7 separate regions of the Homo sapiens genome follow, and regions 2, 3, 4, 5, 6 and 7 are each linked to region 1. Evidence: promoter capture Hi-C in 16 types of primary human blood cells and fetal thymus (Javierre and others, 2016). All regions are on one chromosome and are shown on one strand. The core of a region is centred on a gene start or on the middle of the fragment in contact, and the rest is flanking DNA. Distances in the headings are between cores, read along the strand shown. Region 1 holds the start of MASP1 (MBL associated serine protease 1). Region 2 overlaps TPRG1 (tumor protein p63 regulated 1). Region 3 overlaps TPRG1 (tumor protein p63 regulated 1). Region 4 overlaps LOC107986167 (a long non-coding RNA gene). Region 5 overlaps LOC107986167 (a long non-coding RNA gene). Region 6 has its middle 61 kb from the start of TPRG1-AS1. Region 7 has its middle 44 kb from the start of TPRG1-AS1.

Region 1 (3,617 bases), core at 308-2,807:
AAGAGATGCAGCTTCAAGGGACAGAAACAGAACAAAGGACAAAGGAGGGGATGCTCACTCTGGAATATGGTGGTCAGGAGAGAGAAAGAGATATTTGTGCCAGCTTGAACAATCAGGTCTTCTAGGTGGAAAATAAAGAAGAAGGTTGCTCCAGGTTGAGGGATGAGCATATGCAAAGATACAGAATTGTTACTCAGCCAAGTAGTTTGATATGGGCTGGGGCACTGAATGGTAGGGTGGGATTCAGACCAGATCATTGACAGATAAATGAGATTATCATTCAATGTAGATTGACATAAATCACTTTTTTTTGGAGAAAGAAAAATGATGTTTAATGGCAGGTTTAAAATTACTATGGCTTTAAGAAGAACAGAATTATTGCACTCACTTTTTAAGGACCTGGTTATCTCTCTGAACCACAGGTAATCGGAGTTCAAAGAGTTAACATAGTCTGAAGCCTCTCATTGGTCTCAGGTCCAGAAAAGTTGCTAGGTTACTTTGCAGAAGAGAAACAAATAAAAACACTTTCCCAAGTGAAAAGAAAATTAATAGTAAAAGATGTGTTTAGGGACTTACACATCTGCAGAGCATTGTGTGTGTGTGTGTGTGTGTGTGTGTGTGTAACAGCATTAACACTTAACTAATAAAAATAACTAGGGTGGTTGGGTTTTCAGACTTGCAGGATAGAACTTGTATGAAAGGTCTGGTAAGGAGTGTCAAGTATAATGAGGAATAAGAAAGGTTAAAGAGTTTAAAACCAATTAGAATTTGAAGTTCTTGATTTCAGAACTCTAAAATCCTTTTTTTTTTTTTAAGTATGATATCTCTTTAAGAGCCATTTGGTGTACTTCATAGCCTGATTCATGCCACCAGCTGCCTCTGATTTCAATGAGAAATGCAGAAAATTTATAGGGAACTGTAAAATGGGGACAGATTTTTAGTTTTCTAAATTGAGGTTTAACTGGCAAACTTGTAAAGGTTGAAGAAACCACAGAGCCAAGCTATGGGAAGCTGGTTTCTTTTCTGGTCAGAAGGAATGAACACACAAACACATATCTAACTCACAAAGTGCTGGAAGAGAGAAAGCAATGCTCTTTCCAGAGGAGGAACACGGAAAAATCAGCCTTGTGGGTGAACAGGAGGAGAGTCACATTCGCCAGCAGGCAGCACCCTGTGCAGGCAGTGGGAGAAATCTGAGCTTCAGCAGCGTCCGGAGCAGGATTTGCACGAAGTCTCCCGTTTCAAGTTTTATGTCTCCTGGAGTCCTGGGGAAGGCACCCAGCCCACCCACAGCTCCCTTCTCAGAGCCCTAAGAATTGATGAGAAAGCCCCTCACTACCACATGCAGGACACGCAGGTGAGTCTGTCAGTGACAAGGTCAGACCTTCCCTGCTATTTGACACTGGTCCCCAAAAGGGAACCGTGCCCTCTCCTCCCCTGGCACGTACCTCATTTTCCTGCCTTGGGTGCTCCCGGCTGCCCGGCCTTGGTCCTCCCAGCTTGACTTGCCTGTGAGCTCGTGCCCGGTGTGGTGTCCGTGATGCCTTATCTTTGTTCTGAGGTCCCTGTGTGTCTCTGGAATTGGCTGGCATTCTCCATTCAGGTCACGCCTTCCCCTGCCTGCAACAGATCCCCTCTCCCCCTCTCTCCCTCTGGCTTTTCCTCTCTCCTCTCTCTCTCCTTTGACTTGCTCTTGCACTCCCAGGAACCTGACAACAAAATCTGTCTTCCTACCGAAAAGATCTGCTCCTTCCCTTCCCTCCTTTATCCTGTGTGGCTGACTTCAGCCCTTGAGAGAAAATAACTGAGGGGCTCAAGCAGGTATTTGTATCACTCTGTGTGTGTGTGTGTGTGTGTGTGTGTGTGTGTAGAGAGAGAGAGAGAGAGAGAGTGAAAGGGGACAAAGTCTAATTTCTCTTTAGTCTTTTTTGCCAGATGACTATAATTTTCTGCTTTTCTTCAGGACACCCATGAAAGAAAAGCAATTAAATAGAAACAACCAACTAAGAAGGCAATTCTAGCACCTACACTAGAAGAAAAAAAAAAGGTCTAAATCCCAGAGCGTCTGTCTGCAAATAACTACAGGTTTCCTTGTGAGCAGAGCCCCAAATAACTACAGGTTTTCTCGTGATCAGAGTCACACACAACGACAGGTTTTCCTGTGAACAGAGCCACGGGCCCGGAACTGGGGAAGCACCAAGTCCTGAAGTTGGCTGGTTGTTCCTCCCCATGAGCAATACCTGTGGCACTGTTTACTTGCTCGGAGTGTGTGCGGCTCTACTCCAGCCCAGAAAGGGCCCATCGCAGCAAGAAATCTCACCTCCCCAGGGGTGTAGAAAGACCTGGGCCTGTATATATGTCTATACCCATGGCTTCCGGAGAAATCAACACTAGATCTAAGATGAGCTGAATAATAAGAAAATTACCCCCTCCACAACAACAACAACCAACACTGAATAGGGAGAGGTGTATCTGGGTGTAAAAGTTAAGTTTGACTGTGCACCTTTTCTGTGTTAGACACAGTACTAGTCATTAACATCATCTCAAGTTACTTTTGCAAACTGGTGAAAGTGCTGCTGTTATACTCATTTTACAAGTGAGGACACTAAGGCTCAGAGAGAATATGCCACTTGCCAAGATCATCCAGTTATTTATGACTCCCCACTGCCACTAGCACTAGAAGCTAACAGCTATTGAGTGCTACGTGTCAGGCACTGCTCTAAGCACTTAATATATGAATTCTTTTCAGTCATCTTTATATGTTGTATACATGGCTGGCAATATTCTCATTTTTCAGAGGAAATTGCCCAGAGAGGTTAAGTAACTTTCCCAAGTTCACACAGCTAGAAAGTAATAGAGGCAGAATTTGAAGTGTTAGCCACTGTATTACACTGCTACTCATTAACATTTTATAATGCATATGGAATTTCAAATGCACACACACAGACGGCATTCATAGAGAAACTCAATCTGAGTCATTTTGAAAAGAAGATTAGACTCAGAGTTTAGCTGTAATCTTTCCTTTCTACCCAAGACAGCTGTGTACTTTGGGCACAATACTTAAGGTATCTGATTCTGTGTCTTCATTTGGAAAATGGGAGTTACTATGAGGCTTAAATAAGACTGTGCTTGTAGAAGTGTCCAGGGGAGTACCAGAGAGAGGGCTGCCAGCCACACTCACCAAAGCGGCAGACACATGCACTGTCTACCCTCAGATAACGTTCCTTTGGCACGTTCTGGGGAACAGTGGCTTGACTCTCACTGTACTTCTTACTCCATTTTCTCTCCAGTTTCTCTAATTTTCACACTTTTGAATGCCAGCCTTGCCAAGCTTGGCATTATCAAGAGGCTGTGGTTGATAAAGCAGGTACAAGTATATGAGATGGGAGGATATGTTTGAACTCAGGCACTGTTTTAGCAAAATGTGTTCTGTCTCAGTCAGCACAGGAAAAAAAGCTTTTAACATTCCCGTTAAGAAGACTCACAGGCTCCGCACACATTAAATAACTCTCACAAAACAACATTTTAATGATTTACGTGTAAATGAATCAGAAACACATGGACGACATTTCTCTTGGAATACACAAGGGTTTTAAAACTGAAGGAGAAAGAGCTTG
Region 2 (3,617 bases), core at 704-3,203, 1.9 Mb after region 1:
TGATGAACTCCCCCAGTTTTAGTTTGTCTGGGAAATACTTTATTTTCACTTCATTTCTGAATGATAATTTTGCTGGGTATAGTATTCCTGGTTGTCAATAATTTCCTTTTAGCACTTTGAGTATATAATCTTCTTTTCTACCTGCCTGTAAGGTTTCTGCAGAGAAATCTGCTGTTTAGTCTTACAGGGATTCTCTTATATGTGACTTGATGTTTTTATTTTGCTGTTTTTAGAATTCTCTCTTTGTTTTTGACTTTTAATTTTTTTTTTTTTTTTTTTTTGAGATGAGGTCTTGCTTTGTCACTCAGATTGGAGTGCAGTGGCATAATTCCATTTCACTGCAAACTTGAACTTCTGGGCTCAAGCAAGTCTTCCACCTCAGCCTCCTGAGTAGCTGGGACTATATGTGCATGATACCATGTCCAACTAATTTTTAATATTTTGTGGAATTGGAGCCTTGTTGTGTTGCCCAGATTCTCTTTGACTTTTGACAGTTTGACTACACTGTGCTTCACAGAGAAACTTTTGGGTTTAATCTATTTGGGTACTTTTTTGCTTCCCAGATTTAAATATGCATATCTCTCCCCAGACTTGGGAAGCTTTCAGCTTTATTTTATTAGATAGGTTTTCCATACACTTTCCCTTCTCTTTTCTTTCTGGAACTTCCATGATACAAATATTTGTTCACTTAATAGTGTCCATAAGTCTTGTAAGCTTTCCTCACTCCTTTTCATTCTTAGTTCTTTTTTTTTTTCTCTGACTTTGTAATTTCAAATTACCTATCTTCAAATTCAGAGATTCTTCTGCTAGATCAAGTCTGTTGTTGAGGCTGTCTCTTTTATTAATCAACTTATTCAGAATACTGCGGGATTTCTGTTTGCTGCTTTATGTATGTCTACTATCTCTGTGCAATTTCTCATTCATACCATGAGTTGGTTTCCTGATTTTGTTGAATCGTCTGTCCGTATGTTTTTGGTTGTTTGTTTCTTGTTCCTTAAGAGGATTATTTTGAATTCCTTTTCCTGGCGATTCATTTATTTGTCTATTTATTGAGGTCGGCTACTAGATAATTATTATAATTTGTTGGTGACATCATATTTTCTTGCTTTTTCATGTTTCTTATTCATGTGTTGCTGTCTGTGCATATGGTCAATCATCTCTTGCAAACTTTCTACAATAGCTTTCATAAAGAAAGATTTTCACCTGCACCTGCTGTTGTTTTTTTTGCCTGCTGGTTGTGAAGGGTGTAGTGACCGTTTTTCTGCATAGGTGCAATGGTATGATCTCTGTGCAGCTTCTTTAGCTGTATTCAATGTCAGTAGTAAGTGTGGGCACCTCAGTGGCCTAGGCTGTAGAAGCCTGTGGCCATGACAGCATAGGTTGTTAATGTTCTAGGTATCAAGCGCTTTGGGGTTCTTCTCTCCTTACTTTTCCTACAGTGGAGAGACTTAGCCAAGGAGATCCCTTTTATTATCAGGTCTGACACAGCCTACAAGTAGCTGCAGTGGTGCTGGGTTCCAGGTACAGGTAATCATAGCAGCTGTGGTGCAAAGGTCCTGGGCTCAGTGTTACATGAACCTATTGTGACACCTAGGTCTTTGGCTGCAAGTTTTCTCTCTTTGGCTGGTTGAATACAGGTTGCCCACAGAGCCTGGATCTGTGACTCTGAGGCATCTCCTAACAGCTTGGGCTCAGGAGTCTGTGTCATGATTGTGATTCTACCCATGGGTGGGAGCTCAGAGTACTGGCACATCTGTGGGGAAAAGGGAGTGTCCTAGAGGTTTGGACCTGCAGAGCAGAGTATGGCTGCAATTTGGAAACCTGTGCCAACAGGGCTCAGTGGCAGCTTGAGTCCCAGGGAATGAGATACTGTGTAGTAGTAGCTATAGACCCTGGGATTTCAGGGCTCAGCAGTATCTCAGCCTCTGTGAGGCCAGGTGCAGTGGCAACAGTACCCCAGAACGGTGGAGCATGGCTATTATCTGAGCCCTGGAGCTGGGCTGGGGACAGCACAGTGATGACTTCACTCCCCAGGAAGAGGGGTGTCTCAGCAGCTAAGACACCACTCTAGGGGGCTAGTCCAGCTCCAAAGGTACTAGACTTATTTGGCTTATAAGGTGAGGTATCTCAGCTCAGCCACTGCTCTGTTTCCTTGGAGCATGGGGTACTATGTAAGCCCAACCCTGAGATGCAAAGCTGCTCAGCTTAACCAGGGCACTGATTCCCTAGGGGGTGATATGTTGTATCAGCTCAGGCCTGAGGGTATGGTGACTGTTCTGGGCCACCTAGGCACTGTTTTCCTGGGATGCAGGTTGCTGCTTCAGCTTAGGTACTGGGGTGCATGACCACTCTTGGTGGTCAAGGCACTGTTTCCTGGGATGAAGGGAACTACTTCAATTTAGACACTAGGGAGGTGTGGCTTCTCTTAGTGGCTAAAGTACTATTTCCCAAGAGGCAGAGTCCTGCTTCAGCTCTAGCTGAAAAGGCAGCGGGAGTGGTAGGTGAAGTGGCTTCACCTCTGCTCGACTCAACAGAGAAAGCTGTAACAGCTGATTGTGGCTTGGCTTGAGGATATTTGGCCACTGGTCTGCGGTGGTTTGGCAGTAGCTTAGCCTCAAGGATAAAGGAGAGCCATGACTACTCACCGCTAGAGCAAGACACACTCTAGCCATAGTTCTAATTCAAGACAGTGTATTGCAGTAGCCGTGTGGGCCACAGGGGGCAGGGCACAGTGTCAGCATCTCCTCTGGAGGGAGCACAGCTATGTGGACTCCAGTCAGCTCCCACAGCTGGGCTTAGTGCCTGTGAGCACAGCTGGGGATCCCAGGGTTGAAATCTATTGGTGTCCAAGGTGTTGATGGGGATTCCTAGGATCCTCTTGCTTTCTTCCTTGTTGTAGACAGAAGTTCCTCCTAGTTCCTAGGTGATCCTGATTAAGGGATGGAGTGGTAGAGGCCTGGCATTTCCTTCCCATCTCTACGTAACAATCCCAAATTTCTGTGTTTACCAGGGTTTCTGTTACTCCCCTGATGTACTTTGGTGCCCTTCCTTGGTTATTTTCATTAAAATGTAGTTGTTTATTTATTGTTCTGACTGTCTTTGTAAAGAGTAGAGTGCTAGGGGGCTTCTAGCCGGCCATCTTGCTGACATCACCTCTCTCAGAGAGCAGGTTTCTTTTGCTTCATAGGCCAACAAAGCTTTCTCAGGGATTTGAGGCAGTTTAAGCAGAAAAGAGGAGCCTGAAACCCTACTGCTTCCATTAATTTACTTTGTGACCTGAGGTAAGTCACTTCCTTACTCCCATCTGAGGATCTAATTTCTTATTTGTAAAATGAAGATGTTGAGTTAGATAATATCTGAAATGTTTGGCAGCCCTGTTGGATTTTATCATGTGAAACTAACTGAAGAGTCACTTTCAGAAAAATAATCCTGTCACAGTGCTGGTAGTGTGCTATTTCTTGACTTCGGTAATTATTTGCATGGTGTATTAATATCTGTTATCATGCTACTAATAAAGATATACCAGAGACTGGGTAATTTATAAAGGAGAGAGGTTTAATTGACTCACAGTTCCACATGGCTGGGGAGGCTTCAAAATCATGGCAGAAGGGGAAGGG
Region 3 (3,617 bases), core at 745-3,244, 1.9 Mb after region 1:
CCTAAATAAGTGCCACTCAGTTTGATCCTTTTAAAACTTGAAGTGATAGTTGATATTTTACTCAACATTGTTTAATCTAATGGCAGCGTCAAGTCCGAGAATTCATTTACTCCAGAGCTTGCAGAGCAGCAGCCACAGGTGAATCCAGCATGCAGATGTGCTTTGTTTGTGCTGCCATGTTAAACAAGATAAAACTAGTTCCAAAGTATTTGATATCTAGGAAATTTCCTGTAAAAAATCCAGATATCTTGTTTTCAGGAAGATCAGGAGATCTGATAATAATGGACCCACATCCCCTCATGGATAACACCTGTGCTGGGGCCGGGCAGCAACTTCTTCCTGTAGATAGAACATGTTTTCCCCCATCCTCCACAGCTCCCATTTTACCTGATTTAGGCTACCAAGTGTTTGAATTTTCCACTTCTGATCTCTTCCAATCTCTTAGGTATTAGGATTCCTTTCAATCATTCTCTTTCAACGGAAACCTAGTTCTACATAATGACAGACCAGGCTACAGGTTAATGGCACCAGGGAAGAGGTGAAGTTAATTATTTGTTCCTAACCTCTCACTATGTAAGAGATATAGGATATATGATGACTTCAGTAGAACATACCGTTGGCTCTGATACCTACCCAGGATATTTTCTTCAGCTAGCTATCAAAACTCAGTGACTTGAATGCTAAAGTATTAAGCAAGATGACACTGCTGCAGCATAATATTTAGATGCCTATAAAAGAATAGGAAGGACAGTTGATACTTGCAGGGTAATCCTCTTTACTCAATCGATCAATGGCATAAAAACAAGAAAAGAAATTATGATGTATGATAGCACATAGATAGCAATATAATGCCCTGTTTCCAAAGAATCCAAATTGCTGAAATACTAGAGACTAGCTTAATGATATGTTTTCTCTTATTCACCCACTAATATAATAATCACCTTTTGATCACCTATGGTGTATTATACAACCCTAAGCTTAGGGATTTAGGGGTAAAGAGTAGAGACCCTTTCTCAAAGGGGCTTACCATCTAGTATTGAAAATGTGTACACAAGTAACTATAATGCAAGACAGAATATGATAAATATTTCAAGACGAAGAAGAAAGCAAATATTGAGGTCTCACGAAGAAGAGATTTATGGCAACTAGGTAGGTTGCCATCAGAGATAATTGTAAGGATGAAATGGCACTCGAACTGGGCTTTGGCTCAATAGACGTGAGAAGAGTTTTCAACAAGAGAAGAGTTTAAGTAAACTCCCAAGTCAATACTATTTGAAGTATATTTGAAGGGTAGGAAGCATTTACTACAGCTCAATATAGGGCCAGTGGAACTGAAGTGGAATGAGGCCAGAAGTCTGGGTCTTCACCAGATCCTGGGTGCTGGCAGGCTCAGGGTTTCAGATCAGGCACAACATGGTGTCTTTGATGGGCATTACGGCTATTGACCAGACATTAGTTCATGATTATTAGCTCATTGTTATCCAAGTTTGTAAGTCGTCAGTGAGAGAATGTCTGTGTAGGCACACCTTAGCTCTACATTAGGATTTTCAGAAGTAACAGAAAAAAAAGAACAGGATTAAGTTGAGCACTTACATGAATACAATACACAGTATCATGTGAAGTGAGTAAGGCAAGGTGGTGCTATACAGTAGAATTAGAAAGATGGATAAAAATATTTTTAAAATATGTTAAGCAACCTATAAGACTCATTTAAAAATATGGAAAAGGTTTCTCTCTCTCAAGAAAGTCTATTCCTCTGGGTTATCTGAATGTTAGAAAAATGATGATGCACAAGTTGAGTTCTTAACTTGTGTGATGTGGGAAGATTTTTTATTACGTAACCTTTGTCCTTTGGTCTGGGAAGCAGTCACTCTATAAGGAACAGGCATAGAAGATTCTTGATATCCTGACCCTGGATTCCTTCATAATAAACATTACTGAGAAAATCGTAAATATATGCATGCTCCACTGTGTTTCACAGCATTCCAGGTGGGTGAAGGGAAAGATTTTGTTTTGCAAAGGGCTACACTGTCACCAAAGCAATATTTAATATTTACACAACTCCAAACCCCAAGGTATTTTATAAATAACCAAACTTTTCTCATTTTCATGTGTATGATTGTGTGTGGGATTGGCTTAGAGTTGTACTTATATCTCAGAGTTCTGCGCCTCAAGAGACGTATGTAGGTGATGTGACACAGAGTAAAATGAGGTGTTTGAACAAGATTCATTCATTTTAAACTATTTATTGAACAATGGTTCAATTCAAACGTCTATTCAAGTGTCATTCATTGAAAGCTATTGAATATCTGTTTTAAGTTTTGGGAAGAAAATTGTGTCTTTTCTACAACCCCATAAGTAGTTCTGGTAATAGCAGCAGTGAAAAAAAATAATAATCTCTTTATTCAAGGAGCTTATATTTATAGTGATACAGAAAATAAACAAAACCATTCAGTAAAATATGTAATATATGAGATATGGAGAACAATAGAACAGAGAAAGAGGATAGAAAGTTATGGAGAGCTAGATTTTGGACAGGGTGCTTAGGGTGGAATGAGGCATTATTTGGGTAAAGGACTTAAGGATATGAAGGAGTCAGCGAGGCACTAATTGGTGAAAGAGTATTCCAGGCAGCTGGAACAGGAAGTGCAAAGGCCTTGAAGCAAGAGCTTGCCAGCCTGGCATCTTTGAAAAATAAGGCGTGGAACGAACTGAGTGGAAAGATCTTTGGATTTTGGGAGATGAAGTTAGAAGTTAGATGATTGTGGAGTGAGAACAGGGAAAAGTGATAATGCAGGGCCCTGTAAGACACAATAAGGGCTTTGACTTTCACTCTGATTGAAATAGGAGCTATTTGCAGATTTGAGCAGATGAATGACATGGTCTGACTTATGTTTGAAAGGTATCCTTCTGTCTGTGTGTTGAGAACAGATGAGGATGAAGTGGGGAGAGAGGTGGCAGAAGAAGAGAGATTCTTAGGGAGTTATTGCTATAATCCAGATGAATGATGTGGAAGCTTGGATGAGGATGTAGCTGGTTGTGCAGGAATGAGAATGTTTTGATTCTAGTGGCTGATATATAGAATGAGGGATAGTGAGACAGATAAGTCAAGTATAACACCACAGTTTTACCTGAGCAACAGGTAGAAAAGAGTGGCCTTTATTTGAGATGGAGAAGATGGTGAGATGAATAAGTTTTGAAGGAGTATTAGGAGCTTACTTATGGACAGGTTAAGTTTGAAATGTTAAGTGGGGAGTAAATGTATAAATCTGGTATTCAGTGAGGATATCAGAGCCGAAGATAAAAAATGGGAATCATATATGTATGTATGTATACGCATATATATGTCTATACATATATATGTATACATATATATGTCTGTTTATATATGCATATACTTATATATGTATATACATATATATGTCTGTTTATATATGCATATACTTATCTATGTATATACATATATATATATGGTATTCACAGCAATGAAATCAAATGAGGTAATCAAAGGAGTTAGTATCGATAGAAAAGAGGAGAGGTTTATGGACTGACTTCTGGGGTGCTGAATGTTTGAGTTTAGAGAGGTGCAGTGAACCCAGTCAGTGGTGTACCAAATG
Region 4 (3,617 bases), core at 404-2,903, 1.8 Mb after region 1:
CAACATTCAGACACAGCCCTGGCTGTGGTGACCTTACAGATTTGACCCAGGAGAACAGGAGGAATATTAATTTTGGCTTCTAAACAGGCAGATTTTCATAAATTTATTGGAGAGACATCTTGTTCTGTGTTGTATGGATTGTTTCTGTGAGCTGAATGAAATGGTCTCTTATTTTGTGGGCTCGCGGGGATTTTATTAGCAATATTTATTTAGACACCAAAGAAGAAGCCATTTGAATCTTGGAACCTGGTTTGAATTTGCAGCTAAATGTGATCTTTCATCTCGGGGCTATTTCCTTTCATTTTCAGGATGTGGATAGACAATGGAAAGACAGGTGAAGCCATTGGTATTTTGGGCTCATGCCACTAAATTCCAATATTTCGGGTTCTGGGAAATTTGAAGCTCACACTCTTAAAATGTTTTCCACTGTTTGTAAAGGCATTTGTTTTGCAAAGGAAACACAATCCTGATGTTCTGTACTTATAAAATCTGCATCTTTAGAGTTGACCGTGCCTCTACGGGCCTTTCTACTTGTCTTTAATTAGGGTTAGATAATATTATTCTGGATAAAGAAAGCAGCCCAACAGAAAAGGGATGGTCAAAGCAGCCCTCGGGACATCAGCCTGGTTTGAATCTATCTATATTTTTAATAAATTGTTCATTTTTCAGTTTGTAACTTGAATCTCACTGAAAGATACAGCCTCCAAACACACGGAGTTTCTACCATGGGCCTTGCCCTAAGCTCGAACCCTGGGACACAAAGATAATTCCATGAAATTCTTGGGTTCAGGGACCATCAGATGAGTCCTAAACAGAGATATTTTTGGGAACAGAGTGCTAAAACACATTATATGTACTGTAACAGGGTAGCGTATGAAGTAAGTGGAAAGGGGGCCTCACTCAGCCTGAGTAAGTGGAGTACTGAACAGACATTGTGAAGGAGGCAACGTTGCCCCTGGATCTCACAAAATGAAGAGATGTTCTCCAGTACAATTTTTCTCTCTTCTTCCAACACTCCATAACTGCCCCCTCCTTCTCTTCCTCATTCCACTATGCCTCTGCATGCCTACTTTTAAAGCTTTGTTTCTGAAGAAAAAGGATCTATTCAAAATGCTGACAATCCCCGTTAAATGGCTCTTTAAGAGGTCCCAGGTTGTCAGAACTGCTTCACGTCCTTGAGCTTGGAGATCAACCTGCTATTTATCCAGCTGAAATCCCTCCACCTCCTCACAGACTCCGGCTTGCATCTTAAATTTGCGTCATTTGTTCTGACTCACGCAGCTGTTTGAATTATAGCACTCAACTTCACCCAGGTGTAATTGATTTTCTCTTGCCTGCCACTTGTATATTGGCAGCCAATCCCAAAAAGAGGAAGTGTCTTAAATTTAGGCGATTTGAGACATGATAGGTAGTGCTGAGTATCTGTGTGTGTCAATGTTGATGGGGGAGGTGAGAGAACTCCATAACTCCCCTTCTTTAGGGTGACAATCCTCTTGCTGTCATCCATCACTGAAGCCTTCCTCCTTGCTCTGGTCGAGGCAGGGAGCAGGCCCATCCATCCTGGAGGAGCAGGATGCACAACCGTAGAAAATGATTGGCATCAGTTTTACAGAGGCACTCTCCGTTCTGGGGCATCATATCAGTCTTGTGTCATGTGTATTGATTGTAGACTTCCTTACAGAGAGTCTGGCTCACGACTAGGGTACCAATGCAATTCTTCTGGCCCCTGCCTGCTGAGAGAGGGAGATGACAGAGAGGTTGTGTGAAGGTGAAACAAAGACTTGATCTTCAGTGGCTGTTGTTTCATTTGTTCTGAGTACCTGCAAGGCTCTGCAATGGAACAGGACATCTTTTACCTTCTAATTGCCAGTCTAGGAGAGGCTGCCTGCTAGAGGCAGATTTGGGTAATGAAGACTGGCAAGGTTTCTAATGATGAACAAAGGGAGAGTGGGGGAGTCATAGACCAGAGCATAGATAATTCATGGCATACTCAAAATTGTGTCTCAGTGGCATGTCTCTTCCTTGCCCTTGAGTTCAGAGTATCTCATCTGATATTTATGGAATGTCTCTGCGGTGGCATGCATGATGCTAGGTATGTGGGACCCATAGCCAAACAAGACAGAGTCCCTGCCCTTCAAGGCCTTAGGATTGATGTATTAGTATTGTTTCATCAGTCTCCGTTCTTTAAAAATCTCTTGAATTACTCTCGTCTTCTCCATCCTCTCTGGAAAGCTTCGCCAACTTCAGGCAAAGCTCCTCTCTATACTCTGTACTTAGGTTAGCACTGAACTCTCTAAGTCATGGTCAGATGGGTTTCTCTCCCCTGAATGTCTTGTTCATAAGTCTCTGCGGGCAAAAACAGCATCTTTTCATCTCAGAATCCCCATTGCTCTTGTCAGGAAGTGGGCATTCAGAAGTACATTGAGTGATGAACCTCACAGCTTATGTCTGTCTTTCCCTTATTCATTCTTCAGTATCCTTCTCAGGTTGGGATAGAAGAAGCTCAGCCAGGGCCTAACGTTATAAAATGTTGTCTGGTGAATGAGACCTTGGGAGAGGAGAGGGGAGTTTGGTCAGGGCCCAGCTCTGTCTCTGATTTGCACTTGGCATGAATCATCTCACTTCTCTTGACCTCTATCAGTCGTATCCATAACGTTTGCTCATGTATACTGTGGGAATTGGAAACGATAAGACACTGCTAACTGCATTCATGGTCAATCATTGTTTTCATGTGCACATTAATCTTGCAAACAGTTATTAAACACCAGTTGTATAGGAGGCTTCTCCCAGCAGGCTCTGCATACCACACCTCAGTTGCATCAAATGGAATGCTTGCTCTCCACTCAGTATACCTTCCTTCTCCTGTCCTGGGGCTCTTCCCCCTGCTTGGGAGGCCCTAGTGCCACCCCATCACTACTGTCTTTTCTTTGGTTTTGTTTTCTGAATCCTCAGTTTCTATTCTGGCTTCTCGAGTGTTACCTTCTCTGTGAAGACTTCTCTCACCCCTCTTCTCTCCACTTGAGTGGAGCACTTCATCTCTCCTCTGCTGTGGCATGCCTGTGCTTGTAGAGCAGCTATAGATCTGCATGTTTACCTTCCTATTAAATTATGAGCTCTATAAGAGCTGGATTCCTCATAGTGTCTGATACCAAGAGATTGATCTTTTCTTCCTTCTGACCTGTTCTTCTACAGCAGTGGTGCTCAAACATTTTGGCTTCAGGACTCCTTTGTGTGCTTTAAAATGATTAAGGACTCCAAAGAGCTTTTGCTTATGTTAGTTAGATCTATTCATATTTACTCTATTAGAAATTAAAAGTGTGAAACGTAAAAAATTCATTAGTTCACATATTTTCCAAAAGAAAGTGGTGTTGTTTTACATTCTTGCAAATCTCCTAAGTTTGGCTTAATTGAAGACATAAGTATATTCAATCTGTAATAATATGTTGTTTAGTTGAAGTAGATGAAGAAAATTCTGCCTTATACAGACGTATAATGGAAAAAGAGTGAAATATTTTAATAGTATTTTCAGACAACTGTAGACAGTTCTCTCTCTCTCTCTTTTTTGCTACCACATCAAAACTTAACAACTGGGAGTTTCTCTAAGATTAACTGCATTG
Region 5 (3,617 bases), core at 389-2,888, 1.8 Mb after region 1:
TAATATCCCCACCCCACAAAAAACTACAAAAGCTGTACAAAGAAATACTCTGAGAAATACTATAAATAAATCAAAATAGAATAATAAGAAATTTTCATATAACCCACAGGAAGGCAATAAAAGAGTAACAGAGTAACAAGAACCAGATGAAATAGAAAACAAACAATAAAATACTAGGCTTCAGTACCAACATATCAAAAATTATCTTAAATATAAATTATCTGAATACATCAATCAAAGAAAGAGATTGGTAGAGTGAACAAAAAAGACCCAATGATATACTGATTACAAGAAATTCACTTTAAATTCAATGATATGGGTGGATTGAAAATAAAGGAATAGAAAAAATTTACCATGCAAACTTTAAGCAAAAATGCAGGTGTGGTGTATTAATATCTAATAAAGTGGACTTCAGAGCAAAGAAAATTACTAGAGAAAAAGTCACATTACATAATAATAAAAGGATCAACTTACTAGGAAGAGGTAGTAATTCTAAATGTACACACCAAAAAACAGAGCTTCAAAATGCATAAAGCAAAAACTGATAGATTTGCAAGGAGAAATAGGTAAATCTACAGTTATAATTCAGTACTTCAGCATTACCTTTCAGCAACTGATAGAACTCCTAGAACTCCTAGACAGTAAATCAGAAAATACTTAAAAGATATGAACCACACAATTATTCACCAATAGTATCTAAACGACATATGTAAAAACTCCACACAATAGCAGAATAAACTTTTTTTCAAGTGCCCATTTAACATTCAGTTATATATTCCATATTCTGAGCCATAAAATATACCTCAACAAATTTATAAGAACTGAAATCATACAGTGTGTTTTCTCTGACTACAATGGAATCAAACTAGAAATAAATAAAGTCTACAGGAAATTCTCAAAATATGTGGGAATTAAGCAACATACTTCTAAATACTTTATTGGTCAAAAAGGAAATCTCAAAGGACATTTAATACATATACAAAACCAAATTAAATTGAAACAATAATGTGTCAAAACATATGGGATGCATCTAAAGCAGTCCTGAGAGGGAAATTTATAGCAGTAAAAACTTACTCTAGAAGCAAAGTGTTTTGGAGGTCCCCAAGACCACTCCTGTTTTGGTGATTTTATTAGAAGAGCTTTTAGGACTTAGAAGTCATTATACTCATGATTGTGGTTTATTATAGTAAAGGGTCCCAAGAAAAATCAGTGAAGAGAAAAGGTGTATGGGTAACGTTTGGAGAAAATCAGGCACAAGCTTCTAAGAATATTCTTCTAGTGGAGTCACTAGAAAATACACTTAATACACATAAGATGCACTTAATTCTTCCAAGAATAAATTGTGAAGGTGCATGTAAAGTTTTGTCTATTACAGAGACTTGTCTAAGCCTATAAGTTCACAATTTTCATTGTGGGTTGGTTACATAGGGATATAGTATCCGTAGGACTGACTACAGTTGCTGAAGATCCAGGTCCCCAAAGGAAATGAGTTTGTTCATAAATCACATTCCTCATACAAACTATTTAGAAAGCCTGGCATAATATGGCTCAAGGTCCCAAGTGTTTAAAGCATTCCTAGAAGTTAGAACATTCCAAGATCTCAATTCCCAAGAACTGTTTAAGGCCTCACCACAGAATAGGGCTTTCTTGAGAACTGCAAAGTTGGAGCAACTCAGGACAACTGGGTTAACGCTTTCCTGTACACAAGAAAAAAAAATTCAAATCAATAATCTAAATTTCTTTCACAAAAGATTAGAAAAAAAGCAAAATACATCCGAAGCAAGCATAAGAAAAAATAAGAAAGATTATAGCAGAAATTAATAAGATTTAAAATGAGAAATGATAGACAAAGTTAATGAAAGCAAAAGCTGATTCTTCAAAAAAGTCAGTAAAATCAATAATCTCTAACAATACTAGTAAAAATAAAAAGTGAGATGACATCCCTAATATCAGGAATGAAATAGAGGATATTATGATAGATGCTGCAGCCATTACATTGCTAATTAGAGAATACTGTGAAAAGCTTTATGTGCTATAAATTCAACAACTAAAAAAATACACAAATTCCTAAAAAATTAGACACCACAAAAACTCAAACAAGTTGAAATAGATAATGTAAGTTGTCTTAGAATCATTACAAAATTGGATTAATAATTTAAAAACTAATAATTAAGAAATCTCAAGGTTGGCCACAGTGGCTCACACCTGTAATCCCAGTGCTTTGAGAGGTTGAGATGGGAGGATTGCTTGAGATTAGGAGTTTGAGACCAGCTTGGACAACAAGGTGAGACTCCATCTCTACAAAAAGTTTGAAAATTAGCTGTATGTGTTGGCGCACAGCTACTCAAGAGGTTGAAACAAGAGGCTTGCTGAAGCCCAGGAACTCAAGGCTGCAGTGAGCTAAAATTATGCTAGTACACTTGATTCTGGGTAACAGAGCTAGACTGTCTCTTAAAAAAAAAGAAGTAAAAAAATACCATTTTGAGACCAAAATGATTTTACTAAAGAATAATACCAAACATTTAAAGGAGCATTAACACAAATTTTGCACAATTTCTTCCAGAGAATAGAGAGGAAACACTTATTACCTTATTTTATGAGACCAGTAGTACTCTGATACCAATACCAAACAAAGACAGTACAAAGAAAGAAAGTCACAGACTTGTATCCCTCATGATTTTAGATGTAAACATTTTAAACAAAATATTAACAATCCCTATCTAACAATATTTAAAAAGAATTATAGATCATGAACAACAGATTTATTTCAGGTATAGAAAAGTGACTTAACACTCAAAAATCATTCATGTAATATACCATGTCCAAAAGCTAAAAAAAAAAGGCAATGATGATATCAATTGATGCAGAAAAAATATTTCACAATATCAAACATTTATCAGGATAAAAACATTTAGCAAGTTATAAATAGGAATTACTATGACTTGATATGAACATCTACAAAAAAACTGTAGCTAATATCATACTTATTGGTCCAAGACTAAATGCTTTCCTCCTAAGTCTGAGAACAAGGCAAGGATGTCTTTAATACTACTCTTATTCAATAGAGTACTGGCGCTCTAGCTACTGCAGTAAGCTAAGAAAAAAAAAGGCACACAGATTGGAAAGGAAGGAATAAAACTATAATTTTTTGAAGATGACATGATTATCTTAATAAAAATCCCAAGGAATCTAAAGAAAAAGAATCCTAGAACTAATAAATGAATTCATCAACTTTGCAGGATATAAGATTAAAACACAAAAATTGGACATTGCAGCTGATACTGCAGAAATTCAAAGGATCATTATAGACTACTATGAGCAACTATATGCCAATAAATTGGAAACCTAGAAGTGGGTAAATTCTTAGACACATACAGCCTACCAAGTTTAAGCCATGAAGAAATGCAAAACCTGAATAGATGAATAACAAGTAACAGATCAATGCCATAGTAAAAGTCTCCGAGCAAAGGAAACCCTGGGACCCAATTGCTTCATTGCTGAATTCTACCAAATATTTAAAGAAGAACTAATATCAATCCTACTTAAACTATTTCAATAAATAGAGGATAAGAGAATATTTCCAAACTCATTCAACAAGGCCAGTATTACCCTGATAC
Region 6 (3,617 bases), core at 359-2,858, 1.7 Mb after region 1:
AATGGGATCTAATTAAACTAAAGAGCTTCTGCACAGCAAAAGAAACTACCATCAGAGTGAACAGGCAACCTACAAAATGGGAGAAAATTTTCGCAACCTACTCATCTGACAAAGGGCTAATATCCAGAATTTACAATGAACTCAACCAAATTTACAAGAAAAAAACAAACAACCCCATCAAAAAGTGGGCGAAGGACATGAACAGACACTTCTCAAAAGAAGACATTTATGCAGCCAAAAAACACATGAAAAAATGCTCATCATCACTGGCCATCAGAGAAATGCAAATCAAAACCACAGTGAGATACCATCTCACACCAGTTAGAGTGGCAATCATTAAAAAGTCAGGAAACAACAGGTGCTGGAGAGGATGTGGAGAAATAGGAACACTTTTACATTGTTGGTGGGACTGTAAACTAGTTCAACGATTGTGGAAGTCAGTGTGGCGATTCCTCAGGGATCTAGAACTAGAAATACCATTTGACCCAGCCATCCCATTACTGGGTATATACCCAAATGACTATAAATCATGCTGCTATAAAGATACATGCACACGTATGTTTATTGTGGCATTATTCACAATAGCAAAGACTTGGAACCAACCCAAATGTCCAACAATGATAGACTGGATTAAGAAAATGTGGCACATATACACCATGGAATACTATGCAGCCATAAAAAATGATGAGTTCATGTCCTTTGTAGGGACATGGATGAAATTGGAAACCATCATTCTCAGTAAACTATCGCAAGAACAAAAAACCAAACACCGCATATTCTCACTCATAGGTGGGAATTGAACAATGAGATCACATGGACACAGGAAAGGGAATATCACACTCTGGGGACTGTGGTGGGGTGGGGGGAGGGGGGAGGGATAGCATTGGGAGATATACCTAATGCTAGATGACGAGTTAGCGGGTGCAGCGCACCAGCATGGCACATGTATACATATGTAACTAACCTGCACAATGTGCACATGTACCCTAAAACCTAAAGTATAATAAAAAAAGAAAAGAAAGAAAAAAAAAAAAACGTTCTAGAAAAAAAAAAATGATTCAAGGGATCCTACTTTAAATGGAGACAGCAGGCATCAGTTAAATAAAAATAATGGTCATGTTACACATGTATCTGCATGTGTGTGAGTGGTGAGAGGGGCCAATGGGGTGAGCAATGCGAGTGCCATCGACTTTGTCCACTGTTGATGGAATCTACTTTGTTCGCAGTTAGTCACTAGGAGAGGCAGCACACTGTGATCAGTTGTTCACAAGTTTGGCTGCATATTGGAATCACTTGGACATCTTTTAAAACTCTTCATGCACAGGCTGTACCCAGAACAATGTAATTAGGATCTCTTCAAATATGATTGATGATCAGTGATTATTATAGCTTTACAGGTGATTCCAATGTGCCGCTAAAGTTGCAAATCATAATGTAGTGGAAATAACCTTGGCCTGGGTTTCTAAAATGTAGTTCACAGCCCAAGAATTAGTACAATTTTACTTTAACTAACTACTGAGTGTATAAATGAGAAATTAGTTGCTATTCATGCTTTTTTTTCCTTCCAAAGCAGTATTTTTTACTGTCTTTCTTGGACTGACAAGAAGCCTGGGAGGCTCTAAAGCAATGGGATTATTAATTTGGGTTTTCTTCTTGCTGTAAGAGATTGTGCATGCTCCATGCACAATAGATTTCAGAGTTTATGGACACTGGAAGGCATCAAAATTGTATGGAAAAGGAAACAGCCATCGGGCTAGTCCCTTGGGATTTAAGATGTGCTGAGGAAAACACAACAGAACACAATAAAATATTGTCTCTGTTTGAATAGAGTTTTTAAGCATTATTCTATAGTGCCTAATGGCAGAGAATGGGCAACTCAGTACTTTTTCTTATCTCTCCAAGACCTCTTTACTCTTCCTGGATTGAGAATGAGTGGGTCGGCAAAGGTGATTGAGAAGGGTGTGCGAGTAAACTGGGGATTTGCTATTTGCCTTTGTGCTGTGGCTTTTCATTTGATACCATAGAACTAATTGTTTACCCCAGCACAGAGTAGGCCTACTAAATCAATGAATGCATTCTGGTTATCTTCAATCAGTAACCAGAATGCATTCACTGATTCCACCACTGTTTCGTGGCCCACCGGCTGGCTATGAGAGCTACAGAGTCCAAATTTGGGGTGTGTTTTCTGAAGCCATGATCAAAATCCAAGTATGTTCATTAGGGTTGTGGAAGGATTGTGGAAAACTTAACCCTATTAACTCATTAGCTCCCATTAATATTGATAATTTATTTGACTGGTCTGAGGGAAAGGACATTGGCCTAGTAAATGTAAATAATACCTAAGAGAAGTGGGTATACTAGACCAAGGAGTAGGATGAGAATGATGCTAGTTAGGGAAGGCAGATGTATTGAGACCCTTTAAGGAGGGCCTGCGAAATTGGATAAGTAAAAATTCTACTCAGTGAAAAGGTCTCTTTTCCCCTCCAATTGTAAAAGTAACCCCTGATTTTATATACATATACAGCACCTGCAGAAATGCAAAGAAATATATTTTAAAAAGCAAGAAAACTAAAATCATCTCATAATCTTCTCTATTAATGCTTTCTGATCATTTTTTCCATTTATTAATGCAAAGTTCTTTCCCAATAGAAATAAATATAATATTTATATCTAGTATTTACCAATAGTGTTATCTTATGACTCTCAGGTGGTCGACACCCAGGTGCAATAATTCTCTCTCTTTTTTTTATTTCCAACTTTTATTTTAAGTTCAGGGGTACATGTGCAGGATGTGCAGGTGTGTTATATAGGTAAATGTGTGCCATGGTGGTTTGCGCGCAGATCATCCCATCACCCAGGTATCAAGCCCAGCATCCACTAGCTATTTTTCCTGATCCTTTCCCACCCCTTGCCCTCCCACAGGCCCCAGTGCATGTTGTTCCCTACCATGTGTTCATGTGTTCTCATCATTTAGCTCCCACTTATAAGTGAGAACATAGGTATTTCATTTTCTGTTCCTGCATTAGTTTGCTAAGGATAATGGCCTTCAGCTCCATCCATGTCCCTGCAAAGGACATGATCTTCTTCCTTTTTATGGCTGCATAGAATTCCATGGTGTATATGTACCACATTTTCTTTACCCAGTCTATCACTGATGGACATTTAGGTTGATTCCATGTCTTTGCTGTTGTGAATAGTGCTCCAGTGAACATGTGTCTTAATAATAGAAAAATTTATATTCCTTTGGGTATATACCCAGTAATGGAATCACTGGGTTGAATGATATTTCTGTCTTCAGCTATTTGAAGAATCACCACACTATTTTCCACAATGGCTGAGCTAATTCACACTCCTACCAACAGTGTATAAGCATTACTTTTTCTCCACAACCTCACCAGTACCTGCTATTTTTTAGCTTTTTAGTAATAGCCATGACTGGTGTGAGATGGTATCTCATTGTGGTTTTTGATTTGCATTTCGCTAATAATCTGTGATGTTGAGCATTTTTTTCATGTTTGTTGGCTGCATGTATGTCTTCTTTTGAAAAGTGTCTCTTCATGCCTTTTGCCCACTTTTTAATGGGGTTGTTTTTCTTTTGTAAATATGTTTAAGTACTT
Region 7 (3,617 bases), core at 625-3,124, 1.7 Mb after region 1:
CCAAAAAATAGGAATATTCTTTTACATAACCAGGGTACAATCATTATCATGAAATTAACTTGAATGCAACATTATTTAATCTTATAGATATTATTCACATTTCATCAATTGTATCACTTGTATCTTTCATAGTAAAAGAAAAAAAAAACTCAAACATTTTGTAGGGAAATATGTCCTCTGATGTAGGACCCTGGGGTTTGCTGTATTATTTCAAAGGGAATTCAATCAATTTGCTGATTCATTCTCATTCTCTCTCTCTTTCTTTCATTATCTCTTTACCAAACCTACCCTGATTTTTGACCATTTTAAGTACTTTATAGTCAACCAGCCTAGAATCTCTCTACCTGTATCCAACTAGATCTCTACCTGTTCCAGTCCTTGTTAGAACAGGAAAACAGTCATGTAAAGCAATGCAGAAATAGTAAAGTTTAATATAGAAATTAGGGATTACCTGGGAGAGAAATCAGGAAGGGTATATCCAAAATGTTAGGGAAAAAACCCTGAAACTCTGTAGTGAGTAGTTATAAAATGTATTAGGAAACTGCTGCAATTCTTGATTTTCAGGGAGAGCCCCCAGCTGACTATTTTGGTTAGCTGAATAACTTCCTTCTGGTTAGCTATGTGCCTGCCTTGATCCCCCAAGTCCTGCCTTTCAAAATCTCATGTGAGTTCTTCTTATCAGCAAAGTCAAATCTGGAATCATAGAGCAAAGGAGGTTCTGGAGAATCTAGATAGAAGGCTTCCAGTTCAGGCTTCAAGTTTTTCTGGTGAGTAAGTGGTGCCCTATAGTAGGAGAGAGAATGGACAGAAAAGCATCCGGCTGGCCCAGGAAATCTCTTTCTGGAAAATTATTCAAATAGTTAGAAATACATTGCTAAATTCTGTCACTGACCCATGTTAGAGATAATTGGATCTCCCTTTCCCACCAGAATATTGAATTTGTTTTTTTGAGACGGAGTCTTGCTCTGTTGCCCAGGCTGGAGTGCAGTGGCGTGAACTCGGCTCACTGCAAGCTCCACCTCCTGGGTTCACGCCATTCTCCAGCCTCAACCTCCCGAGTAGCTGGGACTACAGGCACCCTCCACCACGCCTGGCTAATTTTTTTTGTATTTTTTAGTAGTGACGGGGTTTCACCATGTTAGCCAGGATGGTCTCGATCTCTTGACTTCATGACACGCCCGCCTCGGCCTCCCAAAGTTGAATTTGTTTTTGTTATCATCACTTTCCCCAATGGATTCACCCTAAGATACAATCCAAAGAGGGCTTCTCTTTATTATTGATACTTCTTATTTCTATTTAGAAACTCTTATTTTTTTTGATTCCAATTAATTAGTGTTAGTTGAGCTACCATGATTTTTCACGACCTTGATCCTAACCTTGGCTGTAGTTTATTGTTCCATGGAGGACATAGTATTCAAGTTAGCCCAATTACAGTGTTTTTCCCCATTTTTTCATTTCTAATGTTTTTCTAATTTTTTTTGTTTCTAAAAATAGCTCAATTGTATGATACGTCTAGAGCAAACGAAGATTGCATCAGTCAGTAGAGATTAGGTTATGCTCTGGTAACAAATAACACCAAAATCTCAGTAATTATTTTTTTCGAGGCAGAGTTTGGCTGTCACCCAGGCTGGAGTCTAGTGGTGCAATCACTGCTCACTGCAGTCTTAATCTCCTTGGCCCAAATGATTCTCCCACTTAAGCTTCTCAAGTAGCTGGGACTACAGGCACATGCCACCCCACCCAGCTAACTTTTTTATTCTTTTGTAAAGACTAGGTTTTGCTGTGTTGTCCAGGCTGGTCTTAAACTCCTGGCCTCAAGTGATCCTACTGCCTTGGTCTGCCAAAGTGTTGGGATTATAGGTGTGAGCCACTGCACCTGACCTACAGTAGTTTTTTTTTTTTTTTTTTTTTTTTTTTTGGTGACACAGTCTTATTTACTGCTCATTCGGTTTCTACTGAAGATCTAGGTGTTTCTACAGGACAACTGTGTCCCATGTGCTGACTCAGTATTTTAATTGCTTAAATATTTTGGTCTCCCCATATAGATACAAGCTTTTACAATTCTTATGGTACGGGAAGAGCCAAACTAGAGAATCCTGTATCTGCAATTAAATGCTTCCACTCACATTTCATGGTCAAATCAAGTCAAATGGCCATGTCCAACTTCGAGAGGTGGATTAGTGGAATCCTTCATGTACTCAGAAGTAGAGCATATCTAGATATTGGTGAACAATTGCAATACTTACCCTATGGACCCCAAAGTCCTATGGACTTCTGACTGACTGACTATTCAGTTGGAGTTAAATGACTAAGGAAGGTAAGTATGATGCCCCTATCATCTTAGAACACATGAGTCAGTACTAAGAAAAATGTTCGCTCTCTCTTTCTGCTTTTTCTATTACTTTGATTACTATGCTTGAGAAAGCCTAACAAAAATGATGCTATTCCTTTACATTTTGCTCAGCATTGTAGATGAGCTATTAGTCTTTTATATAATGTCGCCTCTGAGTTAGAAATCTAGTGTTGAAGCTAATAGTAGGGTACTGTTTATGCAGCTTACCATACAGGGTTGCTGTGAACCTCAAGGGAAATAATGGTTATAAAAGGGCTGGATATACTTTAATAAATTCAACAAATAGTTTAAGGTGTTGTTATTGTTATTTCTTTCATTGAGCTTTCATTAGGAGCATCTCAGGATGACTTTTCAGCTGAAATCAAATTGGCTGATTCTTCAGTGGGCAAAACCCTCATTTTCAGACAATCTAAAGGCCTTTCTTATCAGTAGATTCTCCTAAGCATTTATGAGTGTAACAGGATGGAATAGGCCTGGGGTAGAAGGTAAGGGTGCTCAGGACTAGTCTGTGATAAAAATGGGGTTCCAATGGAAAAATAAGGCAGCCTATAGTATAAATGTGAGCCCGCTGAGGTCTGCTGTGTGATTCTCTTTAATAACAGAGTTGAGAGGTGTTAATGAGCATGACACAGGGCACACAGCCATCGAGTGAATTAGTCATAGCTTGATTCTTTTTTGTGCCTCGTCTAATGGCAAACATTACCCAGCAATCACAGCAGTATCACTCAGATGGAGCAGAAGGTGTGGAAGGGTGTAATGAGGCTGCCTAAAAACTGTTTTACAGAGCCCTGCACCAATTCACAACAGATAATAGAACTCAGAGCCAGACAGATAATAGAAGCGACAGCCATTTATTGCTAAGAGACTGTCTGAATATTTGTGCATAAAGCAGCCCACTCCAAGTTCTTTAATCACATTTCTTGAGAAAGAGTGGCAAAATGGAAAGCCACGTGTCAGGCTACTTCCATTAGTGTGTTCTAAATCAGTATAAAGAGGAATAAGCAGATACGAAGAAAAAGAACACTGAAGAAGACTGCAGATCAGAAACAGCTTCTGGCTGTTTGAATTCAGCAAATTGGGACATCTTCTCCATGTGACTAGGACAGAGTATTGGAAAATAATTTTATCCTAAAGTAATCTGATATTTAGGATTGTTGAAAAATATCTTAGTTTACAATTCTTCTTTGATTCCTAAAAGAGAGAATGGCTCACCCAGACCCCATTTTTTCTTACTTCATACCTAGACTTTGGCACTTTTTTAGTA

The links. The method cuts DNA at HindIII sites, captures the fragments that hold promoters and counts their contacts. A CHiCAGO score of 5 or more calls a contact.
Region 2: a contact is called between a fragment that was not itself captured here and the fragment with the promoter of MASP1 in region 1, in 4 of 17 cell types (neutrophils, activated CD4 T cells, fetal thymus and 1 more). The highest score is 8.8, in neutrophils.
Region 3: a contact is called between a fragment that was not itself captured here and the fragment with the promoter of MASP1 in region 1, in 2 of 17 cell types (total CD8 T cells and non-activated CD4 T cells). The highest score is 5.8, in total CD8 T cells.
Region 4: a fragment that was not itself captured here is called in contact with the fragment with the promoter of MASP1 in region 1 in 1 of 17 cell types (fetal thymus); the score reaches 5.7 in fetal thymus.
Region 5: a fragment that was not itself captured here is called in contact with the fragment with the promoter of MASP1 in region 1 in 2 of 17 cell types (monocytes and naive B cells); the score reaches 8.3 in monocytes.
Region 6: a contact is called between a fragment that was not itself captured here and the fragment with the promoter of MASP1 in region 1, in 1 of 17 cell types (naive B cells). The highest score is 5.3, in naive B cells.
Region 7: a fragment that was not itself captured here is called in contact with the fragment with the promoter of MASP1 in region 1 in 1 of 17 cell types (monocytes); the score reaches 5.3 in monocytes.

Annotation. Positions count from the first base shown.
Region 1 is chr3:187,290,180-187,293,796 of GRCh38, forward strand. MASP1 (MBL associated serine protease 1) reads right to left here and starts at 1,558. Exons shown (of 11, transcript NM_139125.4): 1 at 1,449-1,558. The coding sequence starts at 1,453. It overlaps LOC101929130 (a long non-coding RNA gene), which reads left to right and starts at 1,093. Exons shown (of 2, transcript NR_135551.1): 1 at 1,093-1,357. The HindIII fragment of the contact is 4,632 bases long and covers 1-3,329 here.
Region 2 is chr3:189,192,873-189,196,489 of GRCh38, forward strand. The region is part of intron 1 of TPRG1 (tumor protein p63 regulated 1); the gene reads left to right. Among named protein-coding and RNA genes, the nearest start is that of TPRG1, 23 kb to the left of the region's middle. The HindIII fragment of the contact is 2,483 bases long and covers 713-3,195 here.
Region 3 is chr3:189,174,072-189,177,688 of GRCh38, forward strand. The region is part of intron 1 of TPRG1 (tumor protein p63 regulated 1); the gene reads left to right. Among named protein-coding and RNA genes, the nearest start is that of TPRG1, 3.9 kb to the left of the region's middle. The HindIII fragment of the contact is 2,039 bases long and covers 976-3,014 here.
Region 4 is chr3:189,093,350-189,096,966 of GRCh38, forward strand. The region is part of intron 2 of LOC107986167 (a long non-coding RNA gene); the gene reads right to left. It also overlaps a transcript of TPRG1 not described here. Among named protein-coding and RNA genes, the nearest start is that of TPRG1, 77 kb to the right of the region's middle. The HindIII fragment of the contact is 1,154 bases long and covers 1,077-2,230 here.
Region 5 is chr3:189,062,724-189,066,340 of GRCh38, forward strand. It overlaps LOC107986167 (a long non-coding RNA gene), which reads right to left. Exons shown (of 5, transcript XR_007096249.1): 5 at 1,157-1,697. It also overlaps a transcript of TPRG1 not described here. Among named protein-coding and RNA genes, the nearest start is that of TPRG1, 110 kb to the right of the region's middle. The HindIII fragment of the contact is 765 bases long and covers 1,257-2,021 here.
Region 6 is chr3:189,007,043-189,010,659 of GRCh38, forward strand. It overlaps a transcript of TPRG1 not described here. Among named protein-coding and RNA genes, the nearest start is that of TPRG1-AS1, 61 kb to the left of the region's middle. The HindIII fragment of the contact is 7,683 bases long and covers 1-3,617 here.
Region 7 is chr3:188,990,317-188,993,933 of GRCh38, forward strand. No RefSeq gene overlaps it. Among named protein-coding and RNA genes, the nearest start is that of TPRG1-AS1, 44 kb to the left of the region's middle. The HindIII fragment of the contact is 352 bases long and covers 1,699-2,050 here.